7 separate regions of the Homo sapiens genome follow, and all the other regions are linked to region 6. Evidence: promoter capture Hi-C in 16 types of primary human blood cells and fetal thymus (Javierre and others, 2016). All regions are on one chromosome and are shown on one strand. The core of a region is centred on a gene start or on the middle of the fragment in contact, and the rest is flanking DNA. Distances in the headings are between cores, read along the strand shown. Region 1 overlaps KYAT3 (kynurenine aminotransferase 3). Region 2 holds the start of LOC107985743 (a long non-coding RNA gene). Region 3 overlaps LRRC8C (leucine rich repeat containing 8 VRAC subunit C). Region 4 overlaps LRRC8C-DT (LRRC8C divergent transcript). Region 5 overlaps LRRC8C (leucine rich repeat containing 8 VRAC subunit C). Region 6 holds the start of GBP5 (guanylate binding protein 5). Region 7 overlaps LOC107985743 (a long non-coding RNA gene).

Region 1 (3,733 bases), core at 813-3,312, 330 kb after region 6:
TGGTGAGAGGCTGACTACTCTCTGGTTGTTCTTCTGACTTAGATTTAGCAAGTCATTCTACAACTCACCTCAGCAGAAAATATCTTAATGTCTTTTTGTTTCCAAGCAAGCCACCTTTAAGTAACAGCTCTTTTTCAATTTGAATTTTCAGGACTCCTTCTCAGTTCTTCACATGAGATTTAATCATTTAGGTATAACTGATTCCTCCATTAACCTATAGAGTTTAATATAGGTTCACAGGAATTCAACTGTTATTTCCTGAGTGACTTCTTTGCCAATAATTTTACTCAGATCATCTCTATTTATTATACCAATAAACTAAGCAATAAATAACATTGCCATATGCCTTTTCATATTTTTTGATTCTTAACAAACAGGAAGCCTTGGCTCAAGCTTTCTGGATTGACATCAAGCGCATGGATGACCCAGAATGTTACTTTAATTCTTTGCCAAAAGAGTTAGAAGTAAAAAGAGATCGGATGGTACGTTTACTTGAAAGTGTTGGCCTAAAACCCATAGTTCCTGATGGAGGATACTTCATCATCGCTGATGTGTCTTTGCTAGGTTTGTAAAGGCTTTTATTATTTCAACTATACGGAAACTTATGTGTGAAATTATATCAGAATTATGGAGAAAAGATTGGTGTCAAAGCCACAGCAGCATTTTATCTGTGGAGAAGGATGGATTTTTGCAATGTCTACATTTTCTATAATTATCTTTACTTTTAGGCCTTTTACCTTAAATGTGACCATTGTTAAATGGTTATGGAGTCAGTGTTGTTCTAGTTAGTCTATTAAACATAGGATTTGCTATCACTCTCTTCTGGTGTGTAATTTTAAAACACAAGTGTGTGAAATAATATTATATACTCAGTGTTCATTTGAGTAAAATTGTAGTTTCCTTTTTACTTAACAAAATGTACTATTTCATTAGAAAAATATCTAGAAATTTTGAAGCTATCAGGGAATATTTGCCATTTTAGAATGTACTGAAATAAAATAAATGGGAGAATAACACTTATTGAGGGTCTACTTTGTGCCACGTACTCAAAACACCCTTTTGAAGAAAACATTAGCTCCATTTTTGCAGGTAAAAAGATTTAGAAAGTTTTAAATAGCTTCCCTGAAGTCACACAGCTAGATTCTAAATAGTTCTGTTTCCAAAAAGCATTGTTTTTTATATTACCTAAAGCTGTTATATGTAATTCTGACATGCCATACAAATCTAAAGTTAGAAGCATGATAATGTGTCATATATAACTTTTCTTTTAAAAAAATTAGTAATAGTAAACCTTGAAGCCTAATTTATCATGACAGAAATTACAGCCATTCTAAATATAGTTTTAAATGTTTTAAAATTTTATTACAATGAAGTTATATGCCAATGAACTTGAAAAACTGAAGTGTTTTATTTATACTAAATTGTATAAAGCTGGAAAGAGTAAAGGAAATTTTCAATTTTATAGCAAAACATTGATCATATTTTTTAACTTTACATCCTTCACATAGGAGTTTGTTTTGTTTTGTTTTGTTTTGTTTTGTTTTGTTTTGTTTTGTTTTGTTTGAGGCAGGGTCTGGCCCTGTCACCCAGGCTGGAGTGCAGTGGCGTGATCTCAGCTCACTGCAACCTCTGCCTCCTGGGCTCAAGCCATCCTGCCACCTGAGTCTCCTGAGTAGCTGGGACCACAGGCATGCACCACCACACCTAGCTAATTTTTAAATTTTTTTTAGAGACGAGGTTTTGCCACATTTCCCAGGCTGGTCATGAATTCCTGAGCTTAATGAGTGATCCACCTGCCTCAGCCTCCCAAAGTGCTGGGATTACAGGCATGAGCCACTGGCTGAGTTCTTTCTTACTATAAGCATTTGATGCTAGCAATTTTTACTTGTAATAGTTCATTATCATCTTAGCAAATTTCAGAAAAGTAAGGTGTTATGATTTTCCTATAATTTGGTCTTCAGGTCTGTCTCTCTGGAAAGTGGCTGTAAACTCTAGCTGTTCCCTGATGGGGCTCCAGGGGAGGTCCTGGATGTTTGCAGTGTGCCTTTCATGGGCTACTTGTTTATCCTGGCAGATGGCCTGATGTTAAGTGTCTGACCCATGACCAGACATCCCTGGAAACTGGTTTATACTGGCAGACATCCTTGTGGCTCTCATCTGACCTGTATCCAGTTTATTTCCACAGAGATAGCCACTCTCTAGGAGGAGGAGAGTTAGGTTCCGGTGTGTTGGTCAGTTGGGACACAGAAGAGGCAGCAGGCCTCCCGGGACCAATGGGAAGTGAGGAGTGGTCCAGGATATACACACTCAACCAGCAGGTGGGGAACAGAGAGAGAGTGGGATCTGTGGGCCAAAGCCTTTTTGGGGGCCCAAGGTGTTACCCAAGCAGGTTTCCTGCAGAGACTTCTAACAGATGGGTTTAGAGCGAGCAGGCACAAGCTCATGGTGTCAGGCTGTGACTGAGAGGTGGTCACTGTGGCATATCTAGGCAGTCCATGAGGAGGGTGGGGGTCAGTGGGCGAGTCAAGTAGGTTGTATCTAGCTGTACCACAGTGAGGTGCTCGCCAGGAGGTGGTTGTCTCAGGCAGATATCTGAATCAACTACATTGAGGAACTGTGAGGAGGAAGAGAAGTGGAAATTGTGTCAAGGGTGACTAAGCCCTGCTTCTGGTATAAGAAAGACCAACTTATATTCACAATGGATGCCAAGACAACATACAGTCATAAGAATTCATTACATGAGGTTTGGCTCAAACTGAAACACTCTCCTTCCTTTCACATTAGCTTATTTCTTCATTTGTTGTGAGAGAAGAGGCTTTGACAAGCAAAGATTCCTGCAGTGCTATTGCCATAGAGCTGTATTTAGCAGGCTCCCAAGCTCTATGCTTATATAGAACCTCTTAAGGTGTTCTAGACTCTGAGATTTGGGAAGTGCTTTTTCTATATTGAGTCTAAATGTGCAGTTCATTTTATGAAATGATAAAAAAAATTAGCACAGTTGTCATCACTTATATTTTTGCCTTTGAATCATAAATCCCCAAGATTTCCATATGAATTATTATTTTTTTAAAAGAACAACATTTGTACTTTATATGCTTCCAAAAGGAATGTGAGCCTTCTCATATTAAAAGTTTTCTATGCAGTAATATATAAATAGAAATGATTGTATCTAAATCAAAAATCAATGATACATGGCCAGTACAGTGACTCCTGCCTGTAATCCCAGCACTTTGGGAGGCCAAGGCGGGAGGATTGCTTGAGCCCGGGAGTTCAAGACCAGCCTGGGCAACATAGTGAGATCCTGTCTCTTAAATTAAAAAAAAAAAAAATCAGTTACACATAGGAGGGAAAGAAAGCAAATATTTCAGTCACCTAGGTTCACATAGTATTGTAATTAGCATTAACTTGAGACTAAACTTCCTGACAGTAAAGGCAAACAGAAAAATGAAATTAGTTGCGTAGTTTTTGAATAAAAAGAAACTTAGCTTTTTAGATAAGAACAATTCTTTCCTGGAACCAAACTTTTCCAGATATGAAACTCGATTTATCACATTGTGACATTAACTATCAAAAGAACAGTGATAAAACTCAGAATATTACATTAAGCTCCTAATTAGTTTCCATTTCTTTCCTCAGTCAATCCATTCTATATGCAATACTAATTTAGGTCTTAGATCTTGAACTAGTGTGGTGATAATAGGAGCAAAAAGGATTTTGGTTAGGAAAGCTTTTC
Region 2 (3,856 bases), core at 1,353-3,852, 470 kb before region 6:
ATTTAAACTGACTCCTCTGATGTTTTTATGTGATATGGGAGGGATATAGGACATTAGACTCCCTGTCAGGGCCACATAGAATAATCCTACCTTGGGTGGGAGGTTGGACTTGATGATCACTGAAGTCCTCTACCACTCTCAGATTCTATGATTTTAAGATTTATATTTACCACTGTTCACAGAAATAGAAAGTTTCAATGATTCTTTATCAGTGGTGATGCTCTTCCCAGAATGCCACCATTTAATAAGTCTCATATATGTACACATACTTCTGCTCCTGGACTTTGCAACTGACCTACTTTTAAAGCTCTTGGAGCAGCTCATGGAGATGAACTAATGCTTCTTAGTTTATTTGTTTCTGGTGTCCTGAATGACCAAAGGAAGCTCACGAAGTACAGCTGGCTAGAGAAGAAGGGAAAGCAGCATCAGTCGTGGAGCGGTGCTGATGATCCATGTGGTCAAACCATGGCTTTGGACTCTTTGGTTCTTGAGTTACCGAGAATCCAAGGCTGTTTGAAGAATGGCAAGGAGGAAAATCTGGCCATAGCTGTGTTGACTCCTAGAATGGTTAGATTCCAATGGAAAACAACAGAAGGTTAAGACCCTGGTTCCACAGGTATCCTGTACAATGGCTCTTCCTCTTCACAGTGATCTTATTAAAAACCCTGAATCTGATCATCACTCCACTAATACTCTCCAACTGTACTTATAATAATATCCAAACTCCATATCATGGCCTTAATGGTCTGATTCCTGTGTCTCTCTCCAGCCCTATTTCATATACTTATTCTAATATTTACTTCTTGAGGGCAGAAACCTTTTCTTATGTCCTGCTGCACCTGCAATATTGAGACCAGCACTTGGCACAAACCTCAATACCTGTTGGTTAAATAAATGAAACCAGGCTGGGCGCAGTGACTCATGCCTGTAATCCCAGCATTTTGGAAGGCTGAGGCAGGTGGATCACTTGAGGCCAGGAGTTTGAGACCAGCCTGGCCATCGTGGTGAAACCCCATCTCTACTAAAATACAAAAAATTAGCCAGGTGTGGTGGCACACACCTGTAATCTCAGCTACTCAGGAGGCTGAGGCAGGAGAATCACTTTAACCCAGGAAGCAGAGGTTGCAGTGAGCCAAGATTGCGCCGCTGAACTCTAGCCTGGGTGACAGAGTGAGACTGTATCTCAAAAAATAAATAAATAAATAATAATTAAAAAAATGAAACCAGTCTTGACTTCCAAAGGACTTTACTAAGTTCGTATAACGGAACCTCTCATCACTATATTCTTAAGAAGAAACCCTTTTTTGAACCCCCACCCCTATATTTCCATGACGCTTCAGGGATGAAAAGCACTCGTTTGATTACTGAGAGGATAGCTGGAGAAGTGAAGAATAATGTGATGTTCAGCTCAAACTCCTTGGGGGAATTCGGTTGTGAAAATGGAATTACCCAAGTTGGATTCCGCCCAGGATGCCAAGCTTAAGTTATTGGGTAAGTGCACATTAGAAAAATGAATTTTGGCAGCTGCCAAAATATTCTCTTTATGTGAAAGTAAGTGACCTTGGGTTTAGTTTCTGTTAACGGCTGGCTTTTTCTGGCAGAGGCAAGAGATGGATACTTTGCAATGGTTTTGCAATGACAGCAGCAGTACCAGGAAACTTGCGGGTTGTTACAGTGCATCCATTTCTCAGCATCCATTATAGTTAGGAATGTGATGGACCAAATGTGCTTTTTATTTTGCCAGTGTTTGGACTCTTCATTTGGAGAATAACCCATGATTGTAGCTGACTATATTCCAAGATTCATAAGCTTTGGCGCCTGAATCAGATACCTATGGAGGAAAAAGAAGCAATTTATTCATTCCTTTCTTTTTTTTCCTCTCCCATTTAACTGTCCCAAATGTCAGTGAATGAGTCAAATGTTCAATATTTTTCCACAGGGGCTGACTTTGGAGAAGCCAGTACAGTCCATCATACTGTTTTCTCAACTAGTTCATCGTGACATTCTGAGATTTTGAAAGGACACCTTTTCCGTGTCAAGCCGTCCCAGGGTGGCTAATATGCCTTTGCTCATTTTTGACAAGACAGAGGGAGGACAGGGTGACAACACAGCAGGATAAAAGGGGAGAGAGTGGCTGGATGCTGGCTGTTTATGCGTGGATGTTGAGAGTGGAAAATGCAGATGGAACTGAGGGTAAGATGCCAGGGAGTTGCAAGAGGGCTCCTTCTCTGAATAACCTCATATTCCAGAAAACTCATAAAATTGGAAAATAGTTTTAAACAGTGGAAGCCTTCTCTGAGGCATTTATATTCCCTGTTAATAAGGTCACAAATAATCACCTTTATTATCAATCCAAATAAAGTATATGATGCTGCTCATGGTAGGATTGGGAGAGAACCACCCCAAAATACCTCCCCAACTAGCCTAGTAAGGTGCCTACAGGTTCTACCCATACTCTTTCTTTGAGTAAAAGCACTAGCTTTCAAATATCCTGAGAAAATGCTGGTATTTTAACTGGGAGAAGAAGATCAATGGACAGGGACAGGGTTGGTTTATTTAGCTGTCTGCTAAGAGTGCAAGAGATTTGCGATGGACTGAATGTTTATGTCTCTCCCAAATTCATGTATTGAAATCCTAATCCCAAGGTGGAGTATTAGGAGGTGGGGCCGGTGCACAACAGCAAGTGCTCTCACAGTGGAGAGCTCTGGGAAGGCAAAAACATCCATGTGTTTGGAGGACCCAGCAAATGAGCCAGCAGATTCATGCCAACATAGACATGTGTGAGCTACTTAATGGTTGTGGCTTCACTACTTCCCTCCAACTTTCACACAATATCTCCTGTGGTCCACACTAATGGGAAACACGCAGCAAAGGGAATTCTGGGAAATGCAGTTCAGCCTCATCAAGTTGACACCCATCAAGCCACCATACCAGGTCAGTTGATTCCAGGATGTGTGGCCTTTCCATGACAACACATTGCCCCTCCTCAAATGGCTCTGTCCATTGCTTGCTCAATCTTTACACCCAAGAAAGGCATTCTTCCTAGGTCAGCTCAGTTTAAGTATTGATACCACAGGCCTGGAACAGGGCAAGGCACGGTGGAGAAGGATCAAGAGGTGAGCATCATCCTGAGGAGACCCTACAACAATTAAACTGCAGTTGGAAAGAAAAAGAGTCTCATCCTTGGGGTGAGCATAGTAAGGGTGAGGCACTTGGTCTTCCACATATCCCTGGCCCCCAGTACCACTTTCTCCCATAGCCCCAGGTACAGCTGTGCCGTCTCTGTACTGCACTAAAGTGTCCAGCCGAGGGGGAGGGAAGACAGTGGGCTGAATTATAGCCCTGCCTTTCTCCCCAGTCTCAGAGATGTTTCAGCCCAGAGGAATAAAAGCTTTTTTCCCAATCCATGGGCCTGAAGGAGCCACCTTTTTATAATTTGCACAAAGGCATTAGAGGTATAACTGTGCCCCTTGAATCATCTGCCTATAGCTGTCTGACATAATAAAAAATATATATTTGGTCTTTTACCCCAGTTCCTGACACATGGGTCTTAAAACCCTCATCATTTCCTGAATGATAGGAGTAAGAGGAGCACCATTTGTTATATTTGGTCTTATTCTCTGTTCCCTGGCACAAGAGCTTTTAAGAACCTTGGAATCTCCAGAGTGATGACTGTCTTTTTTATGCTAATGAGATGACTAGTACCTGGGGTCCCTAGCCAGCTTCAGGATGAGGGCTGGTCACCTGAAAGACCAAGCCTTGATGACAGGGTTAGAACTTTCAGCCATATCTCCCTTCCCCATTCCCCACCTCAACTTCCTGGGAGGGGAGAGGGGCTGGAGAGTGAGTCAATCAC
Region 3 (3,780 bases), core at 884-3,383, 450 kb before region 6:
GTCTTTTACCTGAGGCTAATAAGGATTGAACCAAGCAGTATTTTTTTAATGGCAAAAGTCCAGATGTAACTCGAGTTGAAATAAAATTAATTCTGTAAAGGATTAAAAAATAAGGAGAAAGCCCATTTTCTACTTCTCAAACTTTATAACAGAAAAATCCCTGGATTAAAATAATTGGAATGGCCAATTTGGTTTAGATGTTTGATATCATTGCCTACCCTGTATCTTTTATGCAAAATATTCAAACTCTGGGAATATTCTATCACTTATGATATGCCTGATCATATAACTATTTTAATAATTTGTCCCTAAATATGTTCAAATATGTTTAAATGTGAAACCTACAGTATAGTCTGCATTCAAACATCTATGCTCACACAAAATTATGTAGCTAATGAACAGCTTTCACTTTTTTCCTACTTGCAAATTTAGGATGACATTCAAACTTACATTCAGAAATATGTGGGCCTTGTGCTCTGACCGTGTAAATACTCCACTGAGTCTCAAATGAACTTTAATAACTTCCTTTTTATGCATTTACTTCTTCACCCAAACGAAAAGCTTATGTTGCTAGCCAATAATAACCAATTTAAAATTTTTCAGAGTTTATCTCAATACTCTGTGTAAGTGAAAGGACTAGAAGATGGGACAGTGGAGAATGGCAGTGGGCAGTTTTTTCTGTACGTGCAGATTGCACTGAAATCGCCAGATGTCTCTAATCTATTGCATTCCCTAGCTCCTTTCCAGAATTTCTCCAGAGCTCTCACATGATCTCTTCTAATTTGTGCTACTCACACTTACACAGCCTCTCCCATCACACTCACCACCCTTCCTTATCTCAACAATCCTTCTCCAGAGGGCTGATGATCAGTAAAATAAACACTATTATTAATAAAAATGTGTAAAGGGACTATTTAACTTTGAAAATTACCCATCATTTCTTATGCGTAAGTGGTCATAAAGTTTCCTTGTAGAGGGCTTCCCTAAGCCTGGAGTGAATGTGGTTAATTAGAGGAGGCCTCCTAGCTGTGCAGGATCATGCTGATTCCTTTAAGTAACCACAGTCATTACTATAAGACTATTTACTGAAAGCTGAGCTGGACAGCCATTGTACAATCTCATCTGGCAAACGTACAGAAATTGCACTCCAGATTACATATGAAGGCACTAATTACCCAAATGAAACTCCAGGGGCACCTTAGGTAGATACAGTAGAGTGAATTAAGGAAGGAAATAATTAGTCACAATTACAGAAACTAGCTCAACACAAAGTGAAAGAATGCATGCAGCTTATTTCCTGCAGAGAAAAGGGAGCTTTAGTAATAGTTTAAGAAATGCAAACGATAAACATGATTTCTAAAAATGAGTAAGAGAGGGACAAATATCTATTTTAAGTTATAAAAATGACTTTATTTTTCTGTTTCTATGTACTACATATCCAAATAACATTAAGACATTTTATCATGAATTTGCACTATGACAAATCAACTTTCAAGCATTTTCTTGACAGTTTTAGAGGTTTTGCCAGCTTTTGACATACATACAGACAGAGTAAACAAGGGGAAAAAAGAAAACTTAGTGAGCACGTAAGTCATGGAGTTTGAGCTCCAATAAAAATATTCATTAAAGAGGAAGAATAAGGTGGGGGGTGGAGAGAGGTATTCTGAAGAAAGAAACAAATTTACCTCACATTAAAAACCATGCATAGGAACTGTTATCAAACACAGCCAAGAAATTAAGTTTTCCAAATTTATATACCCCCCTTTCAAGGTATTCTGATAAAAAAATTCCTTTGGGCAGGGGGAGATCCTCCTCCACCTTTCAAAAATGAACTTAAGGATGCTACCTTTATCGGTGAGTGACTTTGGGAAGATGGAATGAGTGGATGCTTAGTTTGGATGGCTGGCAGGAAACTTTCAGGAGCATGTCACTGAGGCCTAAATCTTATAAAATCATGGCAGGTCTGGTGAAGACTGTCCAAGGTTTCTTGCAATGTTTCTAAGTAGAAAGAAAAGATGAGAAAATTTTCTTGATCTTTTAAGCAGTCTGCTAAGAACCAAGCTGTTTAACTAATTTGTTTTGCTAACTTGAGGTTAGTATGGAATGCTATCCTGAGTTACTAAGAGCTTAATAAAATTTGACTGTTTGAATCACATTATCACATTCAGAATTCATAGGATAATGTTAATTGAATCTTAATTTAGTCTCTAAAAACAAAGTGGAATTATATTCAAATTGACTTTATCTGTTCACTACTAAGTATGCTGACACTTTTCATAATGATGGATTAGGAATCTTTGCTGCTTAAATATATCATTTCTATTGATCAGGTATTTGGTATGAAATTAGATTAGAGGTAAAAGAAACTACTTAAAGAATGAACTTTTCTTATAATAGAAAATAAATAACAGCACAACCCTTCTTGGGGGAAGTGTTAATAAGAGATATAAAGATTTTGTTTTTTCTTTTTTAATATCAGAAATCCTGAAATAGCATACTGTAAGAATTTGGACTTCACTTAACCCAAGTAAATACAAGGAAGATTTTTGTCTAAGACCCTCTCCACAAAGACAACTTGAGAGCCAGGTAAATGGCTACATCTGAACAAAATATTCATAGCAGGTATGTTTTCCAGGTCTTTCTGAAAAAGCAGTACCTACTGCATACGATGCAATGTAAATTGTTGAAACTCCTTGAAACAGATGGGAAATACAATGGCAGGGGAAGGGGTGGGTGAAGAATAACTTACACTTGAAATAAGAGATTTCACTGTATCAAGAATCTTTATATTAAAAGAGCTGCATTAAAAACAAAAGCAAATCAAACCCAACACATAATGAGAAAATGCAATAATTTCTGAGGTGTGGTCTTCTTTGGTGAGTTCCACTGGGATATATTTATATGCTCTCTTTCAACCAGGCCATCACCAAACAATTGTTTGTTCTGTACTTAACAATTAAAACTGACAAAAAGACTTTTTCATCATGAGCTTCAAGCAGCCATAGGAGTTAAGAACACATATGGTGCTTTTATATTTACACAAGCAATCTCTCATGAGTCCTATAGAGATTGGGGAAATAGAGCTATAATAGTTATTCCTTTTTAGAAAGAGCACTTGTAAAATACGGAAAGTGGTTAGATAAATATCCCTCTATACAGAATTGATCAGTTAAAGAACTTTAGAAAAGTCAGCAGTTCATTACCTGAGTTTCCCAGTTAAGGGCTAACTAGTAATTAAATGTTTTTTTTACTTAAGAAAGTGAACAAAAACTTACAATATTAAAAGGGGCCAGTGTCAGAAAATTTAGACTCAAAATTAAGTTTCAGACTTTTGAAGGTTTATAAAATCTAATAGGAATATCTATGAATTTTCCTTCTTAGTTAAAACATGAAGTCACAGAACTATACTGACTTACCAGATGTTATCAAAACTTAGGTTGGGGGTCAGCCTGCAAAATCACTAAAAAACAAATCAATATTTTTTTGGAATTTTGAGCAAATTTTTACAAGTGATAAAAATGAATTATTAGTGACCTCGGTTATGAACCCATATGAGATTTTTAGTTAACACCAGATAAAGACTTCAGCATAAGCGTGATTTTTAACCTGAAGAGATCCCTTTTGAAGGGTAATATAGAAAATAACTATAAATTTTATCCAGAAAAATAGTGCACCCAGTGTTTTGCCAGCAGTTACCTAAGCTTGCCTTTCGACGAGGTATTTTTGTCATGCTCAACCATGGACAATCGGCCAACAAATTATTTGTTTAAAACAGATAGG
Region 4 (3,450 bases), core at 388-2,887, 360 kb before region 6:
TTCATAGTTCATGGGAATCATGCATACACACAAACCAGAATAAACCATTTTGAAGCAAATGTGCTTGAAGTTCAGCACATCTCCAGGAAGGAGAGGGTACTGTGAGCTAGATGAACTGGGTGCACAGACTCTGTCTTGACCTTTCACTTTATACCCAATTCTTTAGGCTAAATTTTGACATTCTAATTGGACTTCCAGAGTTAGTAGTTCTCACACTAAAGACTGTGTAATTACAAGTTAACCATGTACAGGTTGGTGATAGAAGCAGAAGTAGATATTTCTGGGCTATGCAGGGCTATGGTAAGGGATTTGGAATGAAATAGGTCTGGGCTTAAATCTTGTATCTCTAGCTATGAACTTCAGTTTCCTCATCAGTCTATTGGAATATAACTACCTTTTAGGGTTGTGGTGAGACTTAGAATATCTGTAACCCCTCTAGTGGGTTGTATGGTAACAGCAATTGTGTCACATTGTTGTTTTGTTGTTAGCTGTAAGAAAACTCAGGCTGGGCTGAGTTGTTCCTTGAAGGCGTAATTAATTAATTTTTTCTGAGACAGAGTCTCATGCTGTGTGATCTCGCTGACTGCAACTTCCGCCTTCCAGGTTCAAGCAATTCTCCTTGCCTCATCCTCCTGACTAGCTGGGATTACAGGTGCCCGCCACCACGCCCAGCTAATTTTTGTATTTATTTATTTTTTTTAGTAGAGATGGGTTTTCACCATGTTGGCCAGGCTGGTCTCAAACTCCTGACCTCAGGTGATCCACCCGCCTTGGCCTCCCAAAGTGCTGGGATTATAGGCATGAGCCACCACGCCTGGCCTGAAGGCATAATTTAAAAGTCACCTTCTCTATGAAGCCTCCACAGGTTCTAGGCAAGTATAACTCTTCCTTCCTTGTGTGACCACAGCACTTACCATGGCATGCTCTCATTTGTCTCTTTACATGCCTCTTCACTACAGAGTCTGGGAGCCTCTCCAGGGCAGGGCTGTATCTTGATTCACTTTTATGTCCATTATCAATACCCTGCACAGGACCTGATATTAAATATTGAAATAATGAGTTTTTAAGTGTTTCAGTTTCTTGTATTGGTTCTGACTTTCAGTATAACTCTTATTATACTACAGGCTCTAAAACCTGAACCCTTTAGCTCATAAATAATTCATACTAAATTTATGTATTATGTATATGTATCTGCTTAAACCTTGATGATGTCAATGCTGGGATTGTTCTTTCAGATCAACCTGCTATTCTTGTTTTGTTTTGCATTTGATTTCAGTTGATCCTACCTGGTAAGAGTGCAAGTAAAATCTACATTCTAAACCAAAACCACCAGCAGGATTTTACGCTGCATTCTCTATCCACCCTGTGCACATCTGCTCCCCATACCATTTCTGAGCTTTGTGGGAAGAGGCTGAGCTAAAAGAAAACGTTGTTGTTTTAAGTTTCAGTTGTTTAGACTGTTGCAACCATTAGCACTTTCTGAATTAATACCTGCAAGATAAATGCTACCTTTAGCAACAGTTTTGAAATCCTTGACTCTGTGCCATTAAAAATGCTAGACAGGGAAAAATAAAACCTTCCCTAGAAAATTCTTTTGCCCAGAAAGTTGCCTGAGAGGTAATGTCAAATGTGGACTTGATCCCAAAATGGCAGTTGAATTTGTACCAGAGGAGATGGTGGTCTATTGGGGCTAAAAATGATACCCCAAAATGAAGGAATAAAAAGCAGCCTCAGAAGCAAAGTCTCTGTCTAGCTTTCTCCTGCCCTCCTGTCTCTCACTCTCTTATTCTCCCTTGAAGCAAGCCATAGAAACTGGAATCCTTCTTCCCTGAGGTGGGTCATATAAACCAGAACCTTTTCCCCAAAACCAGCCTTAGAGCCTAAACATTTTACTCTAATCTTCTCCCTCCCTTCCCTTTCTCTTTCTTGCTAACTGCTGGCCATAAAGAAATTAAGACCCTCATTCCAGGGGGTCCTACCCCATACCTGGGAGGAAGGAATGTTATATCGAAAGGCCAAGAAGAAATCTGAACAGACAGGCCTTGCTGGATTTCCCCATTCCCCTTGCTGGATCATACCCCTTTTGTCCAATCATATTTCTACACAGCTTTCCATACTTCATTGAACCCAAGCATAAAAATGGGCCAAGAGAAGGTGGCTCATACCTATAACCCCAGCATTCTGGGAGGCCGAGGTGCAACATCACTTGGGCCCAGAAGTTACAGGTTACAGTGAGCTATGATCAGGACATTGCACTCCAGCCTGATCTACAGAGTGAGACCCTAAATCAAAAATAAAAATAATAATAAAGGAATAGTTGCCCCTATATCTTGGGGTCTTCATTCTGAAGGCTCCTGTGTCACACAAAACTACGATCAAATAAATTTGTTATGCTTTTCTCTTGTTAATTTGCCTTTGTTAGAGAGGTGTCAACTGTTATGATAGGAAGGAAAGGAATCACCCCTTTTTGCTCCCTACAGTACCAAGGACCTAAAAATAGGATTCTATAAAACTTTGAATCAGATTCTTCTAAAACAAACCTTATTTATTTTACCACCCCAAGACAGAATTGTTTGATCCCACTAACTTGTGAAATTTTCTTTGGAAATAGTAAAGAATAAACACTTATGAGGTACACATTATGTGCTAAATGCAGGTTGAATATCTGTTACCCAAATTCCTTGGGACCAGAAGTGTTCTGGATTTCAGATTTTGAATATTTGCACTATACTTACCAGTTGAGCATACCAAATTCAAAAGTCTAAAATGCTCCAATGAGAATTTCCTATAAGCCTTATGTCAGTGTTCAGAAAATTTGGAGCACCTCAGATTTGGGATGCTCAATGTGTGCTAGCTTTATATGCATTGTCTCATTTATTCACCATAGCTATCCATTACACAGGCAGTATTATTTTCTCATATTGACAGATGAGAAAACAGAGGCCCATTGTAATCCAGTAGCTAGCTGAAGGTCACATAATCAGTGAGTAGAAGAGTTGGGATTTGGGCCTAGGCAAGTCAATTTCAGGGTTCTCATGCTTACTCACTACTTAATCCTATAGGAAAGGAGTATTTATTTTTAAATGGAACCCATCAGTTATTTCAGTAAGGTTAATAATGTACTTTTTCAGTATTTCAAAATTGCATTGATTTGTGCTTTTTCCACTAGTGTACTCATATCCCATATGTGCCTTCATGAGCTGGTTTTACAGCTTACTCTTTAATTGAAAAGCACTTTACAACTGAAAGCAAACTTCTTAATCAAAGATCATAATGTGTCCGTAGCTCCGAGTTAAGGCAACATGAACTATAACCAGACAGAGAGTCTCATTCTTAGAATTATTGTTCAGATGGGTCGATAGATAAGTAACTTTCACATGAGAAATATTATTATATTATGATATAATAAGAAATATATATATATATTGGTCATTGTCTATGGTTCCTGGC
Region 5 (3,425 bases), core at 333-2,832, 390 kb before region 6:
GTGTTAGCCAGGATGGTCTCGATCTCCTGACCTCATGATCCGCCCGCCTCTGCCTCCCAAAGTGCTGGGATTACAGGCATGAGCCACCGCGTCCGGCCACATGTGTGTTTATTGCAGCACTCTTCACAATAGCAAAGACTTAGAACCAACCCAAATGCCCATCAATGATAGACTGGATAAAGAAAATGTGGCACATATACACCATGGAATACTATGTAGCCATAAAAAAGGCTGAGTTCATGTCCTTTGCAGGGACATGGATGAAGCTAGAAACCATAATTCTCAGCAAACTAACACAAGAACAGAAAACCAAACACTGCATGTTCTCACTCATAAGTGGGAGTTGAACAATGAGAACACATGGACACAGGGAGGGGAACATCACACACTGGGACCTGTCAGGGGATGGGAGGCTGGGGAAGGGATAGCATTAGGAGAAATACCCAATGTAGACGACGGGTTGATGGGCACAGCAAAGCACCATGGCACGTGTATACCTATGTAACAAACCTGCAGGTTCTGCACACGTATCCCAGAACTTAAAGTATAATAATTAAAAAAAAGAAACATAGGAAAATAATATCTACCCCATGGCGGGGGCTGAAAACACAATACTAAATTTGTGGTATTCAAGAGTCAGACAGTTAACCTTTTGCTATAACTAGCATTATTCAGGTCCCTTACTGGAGTTTAGGGCTCTATTTTAAGAGGAATATCAAAAAATATTACATAGACATAAGGGCAAAAAGTTTTACCTACAAAAATATATTCAGATTCCAACGATTTCTGACCCATCTTAGCTGCTACCCCGATCCAAGCCACCATCATCTCTCAATTAGATTATTGCAAGATTATTGCAATATCTTCCTGATTAGTCTCTCCACTTCTACCAATGACCCCTAGAGAGTCATCTCAAGTGAGCAACCAGAATGATCCTGGGTTTCTTCTCCATTCAAAATCCTCTAATAATTCTCCATCTCACTCTGTGAAAAAGCGAAAATCTTTACAAAAGTCCTAAAAGGCCCTCTGCAATCTCACTCCCACCCCACACCAGTCTCATAGCCCTCTCCTGCACACTCGCTTTGCTCCAGCCACACTGGGCCTTCTAGCACAAGCTTGTCCAATCTGTGGCCTGCAGACCACTTGTGGCCCAGGATGGCTTTGAATATGACCCAACAGAAATTTGCAAGCTTTCCTTTCCTAAAACATTATGAGATTTTGTGATTTTTTTTCTTTTAGCTCATCAGCTATCATTAATGTATTTTATGTGTGGCCCAAGACAATTCTTCTTCTTCAAGTGTGTCCCAGGGAGGCCAAAAGATCGGATGCCCCTGTTAGAGTGGTTTCTTGGCACCCCAGGTTCACTCCTGCTTTTGCATTTGCAACAGCTCTGTCTGGAATTCTCATCTTCCTGGTATCTGCAGGGCTCAATCCTTCACCTTCTTTAGGCCTTGCTGAAATTTACCCAGATTGCAACCACTTTTCACCATTTCTATCACTACTCCTCTGGTCCAAGCCTTCACCCTCCTCTTGTTTAGATAATACTGCAAAGCCAATTTAATATCACACCATATCTCAGCCATAGCACTCCCTTTCCTCCTGCCCTGCCTTATTTTTCTCCATAGCACTTAACACCTTTGAACATACTATATATATTTTAGCTAATTATGCATTTCCTTTTCTCTCTCCTCCCACTTGAATGCAAGTCCCAGGAGGGCAGAAATTTTTGCCCAATTTGCAAAATGTTTTGTCCCTAATGCCCAGAAGAGTGTCTGGCCCATATTTGTCATTCACCAGATATCTGTTAATTAGAAGAGTAAAGTGGTAGAAACAGAACCTATCAAGAAACACTATGGAGATACTACTTAGGCCAGAGCCTGGTGGCTAGGCTGGTTCTCTCCTTTCCAATCGGAGGCCTCTTCAGCAAACATGCTCCACCACATCATCACTCAGTCCAAGAAGCATCTAAGCTTGATCTCCCTCTTTGTATTCATTGGAGCTGGAGGTACTGGAGCAGCACTGTATCTCGTGTCTGGCATTGTTCAATCCAGATGTTAGTTGGGACAGAAAGAATAATCCAGAGCCCTGGAACAAACTGGCTCCCAATGATCAATACAAGTTCTACTCAGTAATTGTGGATTACAGCAAACTGAAGAAAGAAGGTCCAGATTTCTAACAAATGTTTCACTATAAAGCTGCTTTAGAATGAAGGTCTTCCAGAAGCCATCCACACAATTTTCCGCTTAACCAGGAAATACTTCTCCTCTAAATGCATGAAATCATGTTGATGTAATCTATTGGCGATTGCACTGATTAGTAAATAACTGAAACTTGGAAAACAAAACAAAACAAAAAGAAACACTATGTAAATTGAGACAAGCAAAGGAATACAAAAGGCTACCAGAGGAGTCCAGAGCCTGGATGTCCATGGATAGACTTCAGTGCCAAATACAAAATGTTTCAACTTTGCACATTACAGGCTTTAAACTGCTGCATGAGAGATTTAGGAAGAAACAACCCATTGTTAAATGACCAAATAAATGGTTACAGGACGAAATCTGAGGGTTGGTCATGCCAAGGAGATGTGAAAAATAGGACAGTGAATCATGTTTTGATGGTGAGCTTGCTGTCTGGAGGCAGGGTGCTGGATGAGAAAGGTTCTTTTGCTCCACTAGGAGCTTAAGATGAGTATTTCTCCAGGAGCCAACATTACTTACTGAAATGCAGAAAGTGCACATGTTTTCAAAGGGAAAACACATGGACTGGTATTAAATTAATAACTTCTGATTGGAAAACTTGTTGACAGAATTTGGCTGAGCTAGTCTCCTGAAATTTATTAGGGAACATCTGGGGGGAAATAAAACCTAGGATAGGGAGGAAGAGTGGCTCTCAACCTTGGCTGCACATTGGAATCATCTGGAGAGTTTTAAAAACACTGATGCCTGGGTGCAGTTAAATCAGAACCGCTGGGGTGGGGCCCAGGCATGAGGTTTTTGTTTTGTTTTGTTTTAGAGGTCCTCAAGTGATTCCAACATGTAGGTGAGGTTGAGACCTATTCTCCCCAAAACATCTGTTTCTTCTGTTTGTGATAAAAAGTACAGCTACGCACTAAGTGAGGTCTTAGGGAAAAACCAGAGCTTTATCTGGGCCTATCAAAGGCAGGGTTTACTCACTTAAAATGATTTCAGTACTCCATGAATTTATATTTTAATATCACATCTTTGGTTAATACTTACCTGGACACCACCCATTCCCAGATCACCACATCAGGACTGTCAGGCTTCCCCACACAGCCCACCCTCTCTCAAGAAGAGCACGCTGCTTGGATAATATTTGAAGGGGTCTCAGACCACAGCTGCAGTGTCCTATTTTGGAAGCCCGTGGCTGAGTATTTTCATAAGCAGTCCAAGATCAACACTTTCCTA
Region 6 (3,537 bases), core at 815-3,314:
TTGTTATCATTCATCATGTACTAAGTGCCAAAAACTTTGTCCTTGCCTGTGAGTTAAAGTTCTCAGCTACTGAACCTACTGCGAAAGTAATAAACTTAGTCCTGTGTGAGCAGCTCTAACATTTCACAACAATAGACCTCAAAAATCATATGAGCTCTTCCCCTGGCCTACTCCCAAACTGGAGATGAATGTCAACGTATTTCAAGCTAGGTTTGAAATACCACATACTTTGAACAACTGTGAAAGATCTCAAATTTCTCTTCTAGTAACAACAACAATGGAAGCAGGGAGGAGTATGGCTGGCACTGAAAGGATTCTCTGCAGTTTCTAGGAAACATGCAGTTTCAAAGAAGTCAGGTCAAATACATCCAGCCTATCTACACTAGGTAACAGTTGGGCAATTCCCTTTGTCATCTGGCTTAGTCACTGAATTTCCTTTTTGGTTTCTATTTCCTACAGAGAACTTTCAAAAATCCCCCTTTCTGTTATTCCATATTTTGTATTCAAATTGTCTCCTTTTTCGAGCAGGGAAAATGGGGTGGGAAGAACAAAAACCCCAGGACTGAGTGAAGAAAATAAATGAGAAATCACCACAGTGAAAGTAAAAGACGAGAGTTCGAACTCAGCAAGTTCTCATCGAAGCAGCTTTCTTTTTTCTTTTCTTTTCTTTTTTTTTTTTTTTTTGAGACAGAGTCTCGCTCTGTCACCCAGGCTGAAGTGCAGTGGTGCAGTCTCGGCTCACTGCAAGCTCCGCCTCCCAGGTTCAAGCCATTCTCCTGCCTCAGCCTCCCGAGTAGCTGGGACCACAGGCGCCCGCCACCATGCCCAGGTAATTTTTTGTATATTTTTAGTAGAGACGGGGTTTCATCGTGTTAGCCAGGATGGTCTAGATCTCCTGACCTCGTCATCCACCCGCCTCGGCCACCCAACATGCTGGGATTACAGGCGTGAGCCACCGTGCCCAGTCCCTCATGGAAGCAGTTTTCTTACTAGCTCTAAAATACCTCTTCTCCCGATTTTATAATCAAGGTAATGAGAGGTGACGGCGTGCTGGCAGCCCTTGCAGCCCTCCCTCGCTCTCGGTGCCTCCTCTGCCTGGGCACCCACTCTGGCGGCACTTGAGGAGCCCTTCAGCCCTCCGCTGCACTGTGGGAGCCCCTTCCTGGGCTGGCCGAGGCCGGAGCTGGCTCCCTCAGCTTGCTGGGAGGTGTGGAGGGAGAGGCAGGGGTGGGAACTGGGGCTGCGCCCGGTGCTTGAGGGCCAGCGCGAGTTCTGGGTGGGCTTGGGCTCTGAGGGACCTGCACTCGGAGCGGCCCCAGGCAGTGAGGGGCTTAGCACCTGGGCCAGCAGCTGCTGTGCTCCACTTCTTGCAGGGCCTTAGCTGCCTCCCGGTGGGGCAGGGCTGGGGACCTGCAGCCTGCCATGCCTGAGCCTCCTCCCCTCTCCCGCTCCCCACCTCACCCCGCCATGGGTTCCTGTGCTGCCTGAGCCTCCCCAACCTGTGCTGACCCCTGCTCCACAGCACCCTGTCCCATCCATGGCCCAAGGACCGAGGAGTGCCAGTGCATGGAGCAGGACTGGCAGGCAGCTCCACCTGCCGCCCGGTGCAAGATCCACTGGGTGAAGCCAGCTGGGCTCTTGAGTCTAGTGGGAACTTGGAGAATCTTTATGTCTAGCTAAGGGATTGTAAATACACCAATCAGCACTCTGTATCTATTTAATCTGGTGGGGACTTGGAGAATCTTTATGTCTAGCTAAGGGATTGTAAATGCACCAATCAGCACTCTGTATCTACCTCAAGGTTTGTAAATGCACCAATCAGCACTCTGTATCTAGCTCAAGGTTTGTAAATAGGCCAATCCACACTCTGTATCTAGCTAATCTAGTGGGGACATGAAGAACTTTTGTGTCCAGCTCAGGGATTGTAAACACACCAATCAGCACCCTGTCAAAACAGACCAATCAGCTCTCTGTAAAATGGACCAATCGGCTCTCTGTAAAATGGACCCATCAGCAGGATGTGGGTGGGGCCAGATAAGAGAAGTAGCCAGCAGTGGCAACCCACTGAGGTCACCCTCCAGGCTGTGGAACCTTTGTTCTTTCACTCTTTGCAATAAATCTTGCTGCTGCTCACTCTTTGGGTCCACACTGCCTTTATGAGCTGTAACACTCACTGGGAATGTCTGCAGCTTCACTCCTGAAGCCAGCGAGACCACGAACCCACCAGGAGGAACAAACAACTCCAGACGCGCAGCCTTAAGAGCTGTAACACTCACCGCGAAGGTCTGCAGCTTCACTCCTGAGCCAGCCAGACCACGAACCCACCAGAAGGAAGAAACTCCAAACACATCCGAACATCAGAAGGAGCAAACTCCTGACACGCCACCTTTAAGAACCGTGACACTCAACGCTAGGGTCCGCGGCTTCATTCTTGAAGTCAGTGAGACCAAGAACCCACCAATTCCGGACACGGTAAGACTGGGGCAAGAGGTGGAAGAGATTTGCAAGATTCATTTGGTTTTAGAAACATTCTACAAAGGATAGGATGCAGCTTATCCTGATGTGGTATATCAGACCTCAGTAAAGAATAAATTGTATTCTTATCAGACAGGCAGCAGAATTCATCAAGTACCAGCTGTGTCTGCCTCTTGCTGAATTAGACATCAATGTGTGTGGTGACTAAACTAAGAGTTTGAAATGCCTTCAAATTATTTTTCTTCCTTTGCAATTTTATGACTTATTCAGGATCATAATTTCCACTTAAGTTACCTTCGTCCTTCATAAAATCTGATTAAACTGACTCGAACTTCAGCATGAAAGTTTCAAAAACTATGATAGCTATTATTTTCATGAGAAAGAACAATGAATATGATGCAATGTAAGTAGCTTGCAAACATTAAGGACAAGAAAAAAATGTTGCCCAGAGAGAAGTTTCATGAAAACAGTGATGTATTTTTAGTCATAGTCTTGTACTTTGTTTGAAAGTAGATTTCTTCCTTTAGCAATAGCCCTGACTTAATTCATGTTGGTTTCTTGGCATCTACTCACTTAACTAACCCCTTTTGTGTTGGGTTCTGCTTCTACTACTCTATTGCCTTTACTATTATGAATCACCTAATTTAACAGTTGCCCAACTGGATCCCTCAATACTGTCTGGCAACTGTTCACTCGTTGAAATTCTCTCCTTTGAATTTCTTACCATGACACATACTTCAAGCATTTTGTACTAGTTTGATTTCCATTTATATCCTTAATAAGAGCCTTTTCCTTTTCCTTGAAATTCAAACCAGAAACTATGCAAAATAAGCAAAAGCAAGCAATAACAACTACATATACAAATGCAGGCGCAAAACCCAAACTAGAATCATATGGCTGAAAACAGATGTTTTCTTTCAGAAATCCTTCCACTACCACTTCTGAGCATTTTCTCTTAGTATTTTTTTTTGGGCATTTTCCTTCTTTGCACTTTTTAAAATCTCCTGCAGCTCGCTCACTCTCTTTCATAAGCCAGCAGTTATACTGATGTTAATAAATAGT
Region 7 (3,822 bases), core at 1,323-3,822, 490 kb before region 6:
TCTGTGGCAGACCCTTCAATTATCAGCAATGCCAAGGGTCCCTGTCTGTGGGGCCCCCACAGGCACAACTCGTATGGGCTCCAGAGACACCATTTCAGCTTGAGAATGTGTCCCCCAAGTTGCTAAAGTATGTGTCCTACCCTCAGAGTACCTGGTCTCTCCAGGGCTCTCATAGCCCCTTGTGAATATATGCCTAGGAGTGCATGCTCCTTGAGCATGAATATGAGAATTATAAAAAAAATTCTTCACCCAGAGCAGGTTCTCCTCAGACTTGTATTCTCGAATGTGTGTGTGAGAGAGGGAACTTCATTTCTTTCACATCCTAATAAATACAGAGAATGGTCACTTCTTAGAAACTGTTGTTCACAGCACTTCTGGGTTGTTGCTAGTCTTTATTCCCTTTCTTTTTGCTTGCCCCTTTAGGGCACAACTGTCCCAGTACAGGTTTTCTTTCTAATGCTGCTCTTCTTTTTTGTTTGTTTGTTTGAGATGGACTCTCACTCTGTTGCCCAGGCTGGAGTGCAGTGGTGCGATCTCAGCTCACTGCAAGCTCTGCCTCCTGGGTTCAAGCAATTCTCCTGCCTCAGCTTCCCAAGCAGCTGGGATTATAGGCGCGTACCACCACACCCAGCTAATTTTTGTATTATTAGTAGAGATGGGGTTTCACGATGTTGGCCAGGCTGGTCTCGAACTCCTGATCTCAAGTGATCTACCCGCCTCAGCCTCCTAAAGTGCTGGGATTACAGGCATGAGCCACCATGCCCAGCATGCTCTTCCTTTATAATTTGGTAGATTGGGCCATGGTGGGAGTTCTCAAACTTTAATAATAATAAAAAAAGTCTCTCAAGGAGTTTGTTTTAAATGCAGATTTCTCAGGTCCTGCCCAAATCTATGGAATCAGAATTTCTGGAGCAGTCCATGGGAATCGGCATTTTACCAATCCCTCTGCTACCTCCTCCTCTAAGATCCGAAGTCAGATGGTTCACAGAACACATATCATAAAACGTGGTGCTGATGGAGGCCTTGGGCCCTTGTCTGGCTTGCTCAGGCTGCTATAACAAAACACTGTAAACTGGATGACTTATAAACAACAGCAATTTAATTCTCACAGTTCTGGAGGCTGGAAGTCCAAGATTGGATTTGGTTTCTGGTGAGTGCTCACTTCCTGTTTCCTAGAACAGTTCTTTTCCCCTGCGTCCTCACTAAGTGAAAAGGGAAGATAAGCTCCCTTGGGCTCCTTTATAAGGGCACTGTTCTCACTCATGAGCCCTCCATTTCATGACCTAATCACCTCCCAAAGGTCCCACCTCTTAATACCATCACCTTGGGGTTTAGATCTCAACATATGAGTTTTGGAGAGACACAAACATTCAAACAAAAGCAGTCCTTTTCTTAATTTTGAGAGTTATTTATATATTTTAGACTCAAGACCTTTCTTAGAGATGTAATTTCTAAATATTTTCTTCCTGTCTGTAATTTGTCTTTTGATCCTTTGTCCAAGGTCTTTCACAGAAGTTTTTAATTTTGATGAGATCCAATTTATAAATTTTTCTTCTTATGGCTCATGCTTTTGGTGTCAAGTCTAAGAACTTTGCTTAGTCCTACACCCCAAAGATTTTTCTCTTATATAGTTGTATGTTTATGTTTTAGTCAATTATCCATTTTGAGTTAATTTTGGTATTGGTTTAGGTCCAATTGCTCCAGCACCATTTATTGAAAAGGCTGTTTCTCCTCTATTGCATTGCTTTTACTTCTTTGTCTAAAATTAATGGGAATTTTGAGTGGGTCTATATCTGTGTTCTCTATTCTGTTCCACTGATTGATTGCTTTGCCTGTTCCCTCTACCAATACCATACTGTTTGGATACAGCACTTATATATAGGGCCTTAACATTTGGAAGCGTGATTCTTCCCACTTTATTCTTGTTTTTAAAGTTTTTTTTTTTTTTTTTTTTTTTTTGTTTTTTGCAATTCTTGGGTCTTTCCCTTTCCATATAAATTTTAGAGTAAGCTTGTCTATGTCTATGAAAAAAACTTATTTAAATTTTGATAGTAATTACATTAACATGATCTGGTTACGGAGAAGAAACTGTGTGGAAAAGTTGGGCAGTCGTAGTTGCTATATGATTTGTTAATAAACTTTGATCCTTCTAGAATCCTAGAACCAGAGAGGACTCAACACTTTAAACTGGCTCCAGGGAACATTGTAGGTTCTTGGGGGTTCATAAACTGTCTTTAGGAAAACGGAGCTGTCTTAAGAGAAGTAAGTTGTACGTACTTCTCTGAGAACCGAACTTTCTCTCTTATGGCTGTGAGAACCAAATGTTTACTTAAGTAAAATTGATCTTCATTTCTACTTCAACAGGGAAGGAAGAGCTGAAGGACCCTGGGGATGATTGAACATAGCCTCTCACCAGCGCGCTCAGGAATTGTCCTGAGAGCAGCAGGAGGAGTGGTAATCCTGCAAGAGAAGGTGGCTTTGTTGAGAGCCTTTAAATTCAGCTTTATTACTCGCCAGTCTCCTTCCTTGTGTTCTGGCCATATTTCTTATCCATTAGGCAGCCAGCCCTTCACATGAGATCCTCCTGGTTTTGCATTCTTTTCTGCAATGCTGACACTTCCTTCTAGTTACACCCTTTGGCACTCTAATCTGTGGTCTTAGTTTTAGTCACTGATGAAGATATTTGGCACATTAACTCTTATTTCAGTTAACACCAGATGAAGTGAACTCAATTCCTCTTCTCACACAAAAGTTGGCCCCAAACTAGTTCAAAAATATATTTGAATTCTTTCTTGGCTAGTGTCGGTTATTTGTGTCCCTTTAGTGATCTGATTAATATTTGCTTTTGTGATGGTTGTCACATCAAGATAGCTGCAAGCATTGTTAAAGAGACATTTGATAAGAGGGACTACTTACCTGGAATTCACCCCCAGACCACCGAAATCTTAACTACTGATGACAGTTTTGTGTATCCTTTAAGGAGCTCTTGAACTCTGAATTCTATAGAGAAAATAAAAAGATTTGTTGAAAATGACTGACCCCATGTGGGTTGAGAACTATATCCAGTTAACTAAACTGTAAACAGCTAACTGAATCTGTTAACAGTTAAGTATGTTATCTATAAAATAAGCTTCAAGTAGCACTGTGTTGTAACTTCTTGGTGCCTCCAAATTAAGAGTTAAACCCTTAGATCTGGCTAAGGAAATGACTTTATCCTAGCCCAAAGGAGACCTTTTCCTCAACTCTTCCTCCATTATTTTTATTCTCTATTGTTTACTCATCGTCTCATATGTCCCCTGTCATGTTACATTGGAATCATTTCTTTTAGATGCAAACTGCAGCTGATGTGTTCATTGGGTCTATTGCAGCCCCCACCAAGTGTTCACTTCTGGTGAGAGGCATATCCAGGGCCTGAGTGCTGGAACCCAAAGATGACAAGGGTGGAGCATTGATGAGTTAACCTCGCAGCTGGAGGGTCTGTGCTGCATAGTCTCCCCTTGGGCCATGAGAGCACATGCTTGAGAATTACATAAGCCTGTAGCAGGGCAGGGCTCAGGGCTACGGAATTGATAACACCAGTGGGACTAAGGCATCCACCATCTGTTCTTTGTTATGTTCATGCCCATCACCAAAGTAAAAATCACAGTCATCCTTCTCTCCACCATTTCTGTCTCAATCAATCACTTCCTCCTAGGCTGGCCAAATTATCTTCTTCAACTTGCCAGAGGAAGAGGGAATGTCTTTTGGTAAGGCACAGAGGAGCCCTTGGTTTTCCAGTTACACTCCTGCTAATTGCAGAGATTTCTCAGTTCGTGGTAATCA

Evidence for each region. The method cuts DNA at HindIII sites, captures the fragments that hold promoters and counts their contacts. A CHiCAGO score of 5 or more calls a contact.
Region 1: a contact is called between a fragment that was not itself captured here and the fragment with the promoter of GBP5 in region 6, in 1 of 17 cell types (naive CD4 T cells). The highest score is 5.4, in naive CD4 T cells.
Region 2: a contact is called between a fragment that was not itself captured here and the fragment with the promoter of GBP5 in region 6, in 1 of 17 cell types (total CD8 T cells). The highest score is 5.1, in total CD8 T cells.
Region 3: a fragment that was not itself captured here is called in contact with the fragment with the promoter of GBP5 in region 6 in 3 of 17 cell types (total CD8 T cells, total CD4 T cells and naive CD8 T cells); the score reaches 7.9 in total CD8 T cells.
Region 4: a fragment that was not itself captured here is called in contact with the fragment with the promoter of GBP5 in region 6 in 1 of 17 cell types (non-activated CD4 T cells); the score reaches 5.2 in non-activated CD4 T cells.
Region 5: a contact is called between a fragment that was not itself captured here and the fragment with the promoter of GBP5 in region 6, in 1 of 17 cell types (non-activated CD4 T cells). The highest score is 5.6, in non-activated CD4 T cells.
Region 7: a fragment that was not itself captured here is called in contact with the fragment with the promoter of GBP5 in region 6 in 4 of 17 cell types (total CD8 T cells, naive CD8 T cells, non-activated CD4 T cells and 1 more); the score reaches 10.2 in total CD8 T cells.

The regions. Positions count from the first base shown.
Region 1 is chr1:88,945,922-88,949,654 of GRCh38, reverse strand. It overlaps KYAT3 (kynurenine aminotransferase 3), which reads left to right. Exons shown (of 14, transcript NM_001008661.3): 11 at 378-564. Among named protein-coding and RNA genes, the nearest start is that of KYAT3, 45 kb to the left of the region's middle. The HindIII fragment of the contact is 3,334 bases long and covers 396-3,729 here.
Region 2 is chr1:89,741,701-89,745,556 of GRCh38, reverse strand. It overlaps LOC107985743 (a long non-coding RNA gene), which reads right to left and starts at 1,744. Exons shown (of 3, transcript XR_002958333.2): 1 at 1,561-1,744; 2 at 1-559. The HindIII fragment of the contact is 1,582 bases long and covers 1,812-3,393 here.
Region 3 is chr1:89,717,142-89,720,921 of GRCh38, reverse strand. It overlaps LRRC8C (leucine rich repeat containing 8 VRAC subunit C), which reads right to left. Exons shown (of 3, transcript NM_032270.5): 3 at 1,389-3,780. Among named protein-coding and RNA genes, the nearest start is that of LRRC8C, 86 kb to the right of the region's middle. The HindIII fragment of the contact is 3,140 bases long and covers 564-3,703 here.
Region 4 is chr1:89,627,247-89,630,696 of GRCh38, reverse strand. The region is part of intron 2 of LRRC8C-DT (LRRC8C divergent transcript); the gene reads left to right. It also overlaps a transcript of LRRC8C not described here. Among named protein-coding and RNA genes, the nearest start is that of LRRC8C-DT, 3.9 kb to the left of the region's middle. The HindIII fragment of the contact is 4,677 bases long and covers 1-3,450 here.
Region 5 is chr1:89,659,962-89,663,386 of GRCh38, reverse strand. All of the region lies in intron 1 of LRRC8C (leucine rich repeat containing 8 VRAC subunit C), which reads right to left. It also overlaps the pseudogene LOC100505788. Among named protein-coding and RNA genes, the nearest start is that of LRRC8C, 29 kb to the right of the region's middle. The HindIII fragment of the contact is 780 bases long and covers 1,193-1,972 here.
Region 6 is chr1:89,271,387-89,274,923 of GRCh38, reverse strand. It overlaps GBP5 (guanylate binding protein 5), which reads left to right and starts at 2,064. Exons shown (of 12, transcript NM_052942.5): 1 at 2,064-2,472. It also overlaps the pseudogene LOC100421401. The HindIII fragment of the contact is 6,725 bases long and covers 1-3,537 here.
Region 7 is chr1:89,758,035-89,761,856 of GRCh38, reverse strand. It overlaps LOC107985743 (a long non-coding RNA gene), which reads right to left. Exons shown (of 3, transcript XR_002958333.2): 3 at 2,919-3,000. Among named protein-coding and RNA genes, the nearest start is that of LRRC8D, 61 kb to the left of the region's middle. The HindIII fragment of the contact is 1,120 bases long and covers 2,013-3,132 here.